Regions from separate parts of the Homo sapiens genome. Here regions 2 and 3 are each linked to region 1. Evidence: promoter capture Hi-C in 16 types of primary human blood cells and fetal thymus (Javierre and others, 2016). All regions are on one chromosome and are shown on one strand. The core of a region is centred on a gene start or on the middle of the fragment in contact, and the rest is flanking DNA. Distances in the headings are between cores, read along the strand shown.

Evidence for each region. Contacts are between HindIII fragments. The CHiCAGO score rates a contact against its expected background, and 5 or more counts as called.
Region 2: a contact is called between a fragment that was not itself captured here and the fragment with the promoter of CWF19L1 in region 1, in 1 of 17 cell types (fetal thymus). The highest score is 5.2, in fetal thymus.
Region 3: a contact is called between a fragment that was not itself captured here and the fragment with the promoter of CWF19L1 in region 1, in 5 of 17 cell types (naive CD8 T cells, total CD8 T cells, naive CD4 T cells and 2 more). The highest score is 8.8, in naive CD8 T cells.

The regions. Positions count from the first base shown.
Region 1 is chr10:100,266,077-100,269,031 of GRCh38, reverse strand. It overlaps CWF19L1 (CWF19 like cell cycle control factor 1), which reads left to right and starts at 1,394. Exons shown (of 14, transcript NM_018294.6): 1 at 1,394-1,461. The coding sequence starts at 1,439. The HindIII fragment of the contact is 22,053 bases long and covers 1-2,955 here.
Region 2 is chr10:99,846,004-99,848,958 of GRCh38, reverse strand. It overlaps ABCC2 (ATP binding cassette subfamily C member 2), which reads right to left. Exons shown (of 32, transcript NM_000392.5): 30 at 1,832-1,998. Among named protein-coding and RNA genes, the nearest start is that of ABCC2, 65 kb to the right of the region's middle. The HindIII fragment of the contact is 2,601 bases long and covers 236-2,836 here.
Region 3 is chr10:100,539,351-100,542,305 of GRCh38, reverse strand. It overlaps HIF1AN (hypoxia inducible factor 1 subunit alpha inhibitor), which reads right to left. Exons shown (of 8, transcript NM_017902.3): 3 at 1,524-1,672. Among named protein-coding and RNA genes, the nearest start is that of HIF1AN, 4.9 kb to the right of the region's middle. The HindIII fragment of the contact is 8,099 bases long and covers 1-2,955 here.

The DNA of each region.
Region 1 (2,955 bases), core at 145-2,644:
CTCTTGTTTCCATTTCCTTACACACTTGTTTCCTACCACTTGGCCTGAACCCTTCAAAAAAGTCAATATTACAAAAACTAAAACCAAATAGGTAGGAGGGCTTTTGTAGATTAAAATAGAGACAGAACCAAATGCAAGTGTGAAACTTGATTGCATCTGAATCAAAACAAGCCCCAAATATAAAATCAGTTTGTAGGGAAATATGGAGAACTTTAAATATGGATGTATATTAGGTAATATTATTGAATAATTAATGTTAATTTTCTTAGCTGTGTTAATAGTATTACGGTTATGTAGGAGGATATCCTAATCTTAGGAGATAAATGGAGATGTATTCCTGTTGTCCGCACTTTATTTTATTTTATTTTTTGACACGGAGTCTCGCTCTGTCGCCCAGGCTGGAGTGAAGTGGCGCGATCTCGGCTCACTGCAACTTCCTCCTCCTGGGTTCAAGCGATTCCCCTGCCTCAGCCTCCCGAGTAACTGGGACTGCAGGTGCGTGCCACCACGCCCGGCTAATTTTTTGTATTTTTAGTAGAGAGGGGGTTTCACCGTGTTAGCCAGGATGGTCTGGATCTCCCAAAGTGCTGGGATTACAGGCGTGAGCCACTGCGCCCGGCCTGTACTTTACTTTCAAATGATTGAGTGAGAATGGAAGGGCTTGGGCACTTTGAGAGAAAGAGAACACAAGCAAATTTGCCAACATGCTGAGACTTACTGAATCAAGGTAATAGCCATTATTCTTTTAACTTTTTTTTTTTTAATTTGAGACGGAGTTTCGCTCTTGTTGTCCAGGCTGGAGTGCAATGGCGCGATCTTGACTCACTGCAACCCCCGCCTCCCTGGTTGAAGCAATTCTCCACCATGCCCGGCTAATTTTTGTATTTTTAGAAGAGACGGGGTTTCACCATGTTGCCCAGGCTGGTCTTGAACGCCCGACCTCAAGTGATCCGCCCGCCTCAGCCTTCCAAAGTGCTGGGATTATAGGCGTGAGCGTCCACGCCCGGCCTCTTAACTTTTTGATAGGTTAAAAACTTACAAAAAACGTGGATAGAGGGGGTCTGTCTTGCCCACTAGACCGATATGGTTAGGTTAGGTTAGGTTAGGTTAGGTTAGGTTAGAACCCGACATTGTGCTCTGTACTTCCTAGCCATTCATTCGCTTCAAGTGCTCTGAAATTTAATTTAAAAAATCATAGTTGGAATCCTTTCGGTCACTTTCTCTTTCTCCCTTCGTTCCTCCCTTTCCCTCTTGATTCTTCCTTGAGGCGCAAACACCTGAGAGAGGCTTCTGTCCCTCGGCGGTCTCCGTAAGTAAGTGAACCGTTATTGGCTGGAGGGCGCTGACGTCTGATTGTTGCGCGGTCGCATTTTTCCGGGGAGCGCGGATTCGCATTCCCAATTTTAGGTGGCAGTCGCAACCCATACTATTCGGACAGATGGCACAGAAACCGCTGCGCCTGTGAGTGACCGTGAATGGAAGCCTCTCTCCCTGTGTCTCTTTCGTGTGTGTAGGTGACGACACGGGCGGGAGTCTTTCCCATGACGGGAAGGGAGAAGGAAAAGGCGGAGAGACACGGGGCTGCTGGGGAGCTTAGGTGATGTCTTTGCCTGGCCGGGGCTGACCTCTTTTCCTGGCCCTTTTCGCTTCTGAGGGGGTTTCTCTTGGCGACGCTCGTTCGGAGAGGCGGAAGCTCCCAGAGTTAGGCCTCCTCCATCTTAGGGGGCAGTCCTGGCCTCTGACACATCCTTTCCCCTTCGTTTCTCCTGACCCCATTTATTTACTCGCCAAATAGCCATTGGGCCCACTGATGGGCCCTGGGCAGTGGTGGACAGAGTAGATAGGGACCCTTCCCTGGGGCATTTTTTTTTTTTTTTTTTTTTTGCGAGGAGGAGGGGTGGGGGTGGTGGTGAAGAGAGGGCTTCATGCAGCAAGTATTTATTGAAGAACTGCAGTGTGCCGGACGCTGTGCTAGGTGTTGCAACAGATGGAGTTCCTGCTTTAATGGAGCGTAGAGTCTAGAGGAACAGGTACTAAAGAATCCAGATAATGGGCCGGGCGCGGTGGCTGAGGCAGGAGAATCGCTTGAACCCGGGAGGCGGAGGTTGCTGTGAGCCGAGATCGCGCCACTGCACTCCAGCCTGGGCGACAGAACGAGACTCTCAAAACAAAACAAAACAAAACAAAACAAACAAAAAACAATACAAATAATGGCCGGGCGCGGTGGCTCACGCCTGTAATCCTAGCACTTTGGGAGGCTGAGGCGGGCGGATCACTTGCGGTCAGGAGTTCGAGACCAGCCTGGCCAACGTGGTGACACCCCGTCTCTACTAATACAAAAAAAAAAAATTAGCCAGGCGTGGTGGCGCGTGCCTGTAATCCCAGCTACTTGGGAGGCTGAGGCAGGAGAATCGCTTGAACCCGGAGGCGGAGGTTGCACAGTGAGCCGACACTGCACCTCTGCACTCCAGCCTAGGTAACAGAGTGAGACTCCGTCTAAAAAAAAAGGAATTCAGATAAATGTAAAGTTACCATAGTGATAGGGCCAGGCGCAGTGGCTCACGCCTATAATCCCAGCGACTCCGGAGGCCAAGGCAAGAGAATCACTTGAGTCCAGGAATTCAAGACCAGCCTGGGCAATATAGCAAGGCCCCGTTTCTACAAAAAATACAGAAAAAAAAAAAAATTAGCCGGGCGTGGTGGTCCCAGCTAATTGGGAGGCTGAAGCAGGTGGACCACCTGAGCCTGGGGAGGTCGATGCTGCAGTGAGCTGTGATCGTGCTGCTGATCTCCAGGCTGGGTGACAGATTGAAACCCTGTCTCAAAAAAAAAAAAAAAAAAATTGCAATAGTGGTAACTTTTGGGAAGAAAATATTCGTGAATCTGGGAGAGTGCATAAGAGGGGTATTTGGCTTAATGATAGGAGTCAAGAAGGCTTCCCGAGAATGTTAGGAT
Region 2 (2,955 bases), core at 287-2,786, 420 kb after region 1:
GCCACTGCGCCCGGCCGGTGTTATTACATTTTTGCTGACTGAATGTTTGAATGATCTTTTACACTGGCCTAAAGACCTACTTGAGTCCTGCTAGTTGCTAGATCTGTTGTGGAGGGAAAGTAAACTGACGATGTTCTCTACCAGGGCTTGTTCCCTGGGGCTACACACTAAAATCACCTGGGTCCCCGATTCAGTTGGTCTGGGCTACAGTTTAGGCGTTGGGAGCTTTAAAGCTTCCTGGGTGATTTTAGCTTGCAGCCTAGTTAATCACAACACTCTAGGCAGTGCTTCTCAAGTGTAATGTGCACACAAATCACCTGGGAATCTTGCTAAAGTGCGGATTCTGATGAGTAGGTCTACGCCCTGAGATTCTGCACATGTAACAAGCTCCCAGGTGAAGCCAGAGTGGCTGGCCCCTGAATCAGTTACTGAGCCCTCCCTTCCTTCCTGAGCTTCAACTTGCCAACGGCCTATTCCCTGCCTACCACCACTGAGGCCCCTGGGGCAGGAGCAAGACCTGTCCATGAGCAGTGGGCTTTGGCTGAGGGCAGAACTTCAGTGTGTGGAAGGAAAAACAAAAATGTTACAGGAAAAATGCCAGATCAACTTATTAATGGACAGGCAAACATACACTGAAGGCCAGAAGTGAACTGTCAATTATATAAAAATGTTTTGGAAAGGTTAAAAATAACTGTGAAAGCCAAGAGAGTCTTTTGTTGATTTCAGGTGTTTCAACAGTGCCTACGGATTTTACAGATGTCACGTTCCCTGTCATCCGCATGCTCTTTAGATCAGTGGTTCTTTAACTGCGATGCCCTTAACAGCCTCGTGGGGATCCTTTAAAACTCCCTATGTCCAGTCTAGCCTCAAACAATTAAATCAGACTCTAGGATTGGACCAGGCAGCCAGACTATTTTCATCCTGATTGTGCACAGCTGGGAGCCTCTGCTTTCTGTGGGATGTGTAAGCTCACATTGTGTAATGTCATATGAGGAGTACACTTAATAACAAAGGTTTTTTGTTTGTTTGTTTGTTTGTTTTGAGATGGAGTCTTGCTCTGTCTCCCAGGCTGGAGTGCAGTGGTGTGATCTCAGCTCACTACAACCTCCGCCTCCCGGGTTCAAGCAATTCTCTGCCTCAGCCTCCTGAGTAGCTGAGATTACAGGCGCCTGCCACCACACCCAGTTAATTTTTTGTATTTTTAGTGAGACGGGGTTTCACCATCTTGGCCAGGCTGGTCTTGAACTCCTGACCTCGTGATCCACCGGCCTCAGCCTCCCAAAGTGCTGGGATTACAGGCGTGAGCCACTGCACCCGGCCAATAACAAAGGTTTTCAAGAGTTGATTTTTTTTTTTTAGACGGAGTCTTGCTCTGTTGCCCAGGCTGGAGTGCAGTGGTGCAATCTCGGCTCACTGCAACCTCCACCTCCTGGGTTTAAGCGATTCTCCTGCCTCAGCCTCCTGAGTAGCTTGGGACTACAGGTGCCCACAACCATGCTAGGCTACTTTTTGTATTTTTAGTAGAGACAGGGTTTCACCATGTTGACCAGGCTGGTCACGAACTCCTGACCTCAGGTGATCTACCTGCCTCAGCCTCCCAGAGTGCTGGGATCACAGGCGTGAGCCACTGTGCTCGACCAGTTTTCAAGAGTTTTAAAGCACTTTCACATCTATTTTATCTTGTGAACTTTACAACAGGTTCATTTTACACTTTAGGAATCAGACCTGGATGAAAATTCTATGCCAGGCATCACCTAACACGAGGAACACGAGGAGTGGCCCCCTCACATCCTCTCATTGCCTGCAGGGGTAGCAGGCTATGGAACATTACCTCAGGTTGCCACCAGCCTCTGTCACTTCGTGGGATAACCCAAGTTGCAGGCTGGCCACAAAAGACTTGAGGTGAGCCAGCTCCAAGGCCTTCCAAATCTCCTCATCTGAGTAGTTGTTGAAAGGGTCGAGATTCATCCTCAGGCTTCCAGAGAACAGGATGGGGTCCTGCAAGTGAAAGGACAAGGGGGCTGTTGGGGCTCATGCCAGAAAAGGACCTCGGAGTTCCTCAGGACTGGGAGATGGTGGATAGGACTGGCCTGAGATGGATTCCTGAGGCAGGAAGCTGGTTTGTGGTTGAGCTTCCGCAAGGTTTTCCCTCCTAAGGCTCGGAGTGGCTACCAGCCAGGGGCTAGGCACAGGGTTAGAAGTCCTCGGTTTATTTTTTGTTTTTGAGGCTTTCACTCTGTTGCCCAGACTGGAGTGCAGTGGCACAAACACCGCTCACTGCAGCCTTGACATCCTTAGCTCAAGTGATGCTTCCACCTCAGCCTCCCGAGTAGCTGGGACCAGAGGCACGCACCACGATGCCTGGCTGATTTTTTAAATTTTTTGTAGAGATGGGTTCTTGCCATGTTGCCTAGGCTGATCTTGAACTCCTGGGCTCCAGTGATTCACCTGCCTCGGCCTCCCAAACCCATAATCGTGATTTCAAGGTAGAGGGATCAGAGGAGGGTAGAGGAAAGAATAGTACAGCTGCATGAGAAGAAGGTGTCACGCTTTTGAAGAGGCTGGAGAAAAGACTATCGAACTGAGCAAACACCAGACAGACCAAAACTACCCCCAGAGGAACTGGGCTGCAGTGGGCGGAGGAGGAAAGGTTCTCCTGAGGAGCCGCTGCGGGGAACGGAGAGGCCTCGCGGCAGTCCTTATCTGGCAGGATCCAGAGAGGAAGCCGAAGGGAAATCTTTCTTGCTGATGCACGAAGCGTTCCGCTTGCTGGCAGAAACCTGCAGCAAATTCCCTCCTCTATCTTTTAACCATAGCAAATGGGGAGTATAAAGCTTAATGGCTTCAAGCTTCAGCGGCAAAACTGCTAATGCTGATTGCAAAAGTCTTGCAAACCGTGATGGGCTATAGCAACGCTAAAGAATCGTCTGCTGTACTTGACTTCTGTTGTGTTGC
Region 3 (2,955 bases), core at 334-2,833, 270 kb before region 1:
TCACAGGGACAAAAATTGTCTGAATATAGACAGATCTAGTAGAGAAAAGTGGTACAGTCATGTGCCACATGATGACATTTTAGTCGACAACAGATTGCATCTACGATAGTGCTCCCATAAGATTATGATGGAGCAGCCCTATACAGGTATACCGTTTTTTATCTTTTTTTTTTTTGGCAATAAAAAAATTCCCAAACTACCATTTTTTAACCTTTATATACTTTTTTCTTTTGTCACCTTTTTCCTGCAGTATCTGATACCGTACTTTTACTATACCTTTTCTATATTTAGGTATGTTTAGATACACAAATACTTACCATTGTGTTAGAATTGACTATAATATTCAGCACAGTAATATGCTAACACCATGTAGTACATGGTTTAGTCAGAGGCTACACCATATAGCCTAGGCATATAGAAGGCTACACAATCTAGGTTTGTGTAACTATACTCTATGGTGTTTGCACAATGATGAAGTCACCTAACAACACATTTCTCAGAACGTATCCCTGACATTAAGCATCACATGTCTGTATTTCAGAGAGGTCCCTAATATCTCAGTATACACACTCACATAACAGCTGAGGAAGGGAAAAGGGAACTTTTTAGAATACACGAAACTAGCTTAAAGACTCGACATAAGCCGGGTATGGTGGCACACGCCTGTAGTGTCAGCTACTTGGGAGCTAAAGCAGGAGAATCACTTGAACACGGGAGGCGGAGGTTGCAGTGAGCCGAGACCACACAACTGCACTCCAGCCTAGGCAACAGAGTGAGACTCTGTCTCAAAAAAACAAAACAACAACAACAAAAAAAAACAGACTCGACATACATTATTTCATTTAATCTTCACAACTTCACAACTATTTACAAGACATTATCATGTTTCATTTCTTTTCATTTTTCCTTTTTTAAGCAATAGGATCTCACTCTGTTGCCCAGGCTGCAGTGCAGTGGTGCAATCATAGTTCACTGTAGCCTCAAACTTCTGGCTTCAAGCAATCCTCCTGCCTTGGCCTCCCAAAGTGCTGGGATTACAAATATGAGCTACCATGCCTGGCCCTATTATGTTTCTTTTTCTTTCTTTTGAGACAGAGTCTTGCTCTGTCGCCAGGCTGGAGTGCAGTGGCGTGATCTTGGCTCACTGCAACCTCCACCGCCTGGGTTCAAGCAATTCCCCTCTCTCAGCCTCCCGAGTAGCTGGGACTACAGGCACGCACCACCATGCCCAGCTGATTTGTTTTCTTTGTATTTTAGTAGAGACGGGGTTTCATGATGTTGGCCGGGATGGTCTCCATCTCCTGACCTCATCATCCACCCACCTTGGCCTCCCAAACTGCTGGGATTACAGGCGTGAGCCACGGCATCCAGCCCCTATTATGTTTCTTTTAGAGCTGAGTAGGCTGAGGCTTAAGAAAGTGAAGTGGCTTGTTCAAAGTCATGGAGCTAATAAGCGGTGAAGACAGGATTAGAAATCAGGTTCATATGACTCCAAGCCATGCTGCTTTTGAAAGATTTCTTACCTTCCATGCCAATGAGCAGCAGGTTAGAGGTAAGCTGCCCCCAGCCACGCTTTCCCTGTTGCTTATTAATCCAGTTCCAGTTAAAACCTAAGAAGTCCATGACAATCTTCCTGCCCACAGTGTCATTGAGCGTTTGCTGCAGATACAACCTATGTTCCCCAAGAAGAAAATCCTATTAGTGCATGCACACACAGCCCCTGGCATGGCCTCTCCACATCTGAAAATCCAAGCCCAAATCCATACCAGCATCTCCCACAGAGAACAGATGTAGTCAGGCAAATTTTAGCCAACATGGATTCTCATACAACTGAATTCTTACTTATCCTTCATTGAGTTATGTTCAACACCAAATTTTTTAATTTACTGGTTTTTCTTTGTTTTGTTTAAAGAAACAAGGTCTCAATATGTTGTCCAGGTTGGTCTTAAACTCTTGGGCTCAAGCAATCCTCCTGCTTCTGCCTCCCAAAGTGCTGGGATTACAGGTGTGAGACACTGCATCTGGCCCCCAAACTTTTTCTTTAAAGAAGTGATGCTTAACCTTTTTTGGGTCACAGAATGACTCCTTTAAGAATCCAAAGAGTAGGAGGGTGAGATGAAAAATAAAATTAAAAAAAAAAAAAAGAACCTGGAGAAGAAGTCCCAGCTACTCAGGAGGCTGAGGCAGGAGAATCACTTGAACCTGGGAGGCAGAGGTTGCAGTGAGCTGAGATCGTGCCATTGCACTCCAGCCTGGGTGACAAGAGCAAGACACCATCTCAAAAAATATAAATACATAAATAAATAAATAAAAGAATCCACGGAGGTTCCCCATAAAAATGCACATACACCCAGAACTTTCACACAATTTCAGACTCCTAGAAGCCTATCCACAGACCCTAGAATGATGAATCAGTCTCACTCCAGAGACTCGCAGAGCCTGAGACATCTCCGTTGGCCCTTGATGACCACTGTGGTAAATTGTATTACTGTTCACCAAGAGCTGGTTCCCTCAGTGTGCGAGTTTTCTTTCACATCCCCTTGAAGCCAGGCTTGCTTATTTACGCTGCTCTGGCCAAGGAAATGTCCACAGAAGCGACTTGTGTTGTTTCCAACTGTAATTTAAGAACAAGTTACCACTACCACATCTCTTTCCTTCTGCCACAGCAACTCCAAAGTTCTAGATAGTAGCTGCTGGGGCAATCTGGGTGCCAGAGCAAGTAAGATGATGTAAAGAACAATATGACATTACCCATGATCAACATGTAGTAAGTGAGAAATAAGCCTCTGTTGTTTCTAGCCCGAGCTCTGGCTTGAAGCCTAGTTTATCTTAACTGATTCAGCCACCTATCCTGTTGCAGCCTTCTACAGCTAAAGTAAGGAAGATAGCTTATTAGGTAAAGGCCTCAGGCTCCTAACATACCTGAGGAAGGTCATAAGTTACTTAAGAGATATG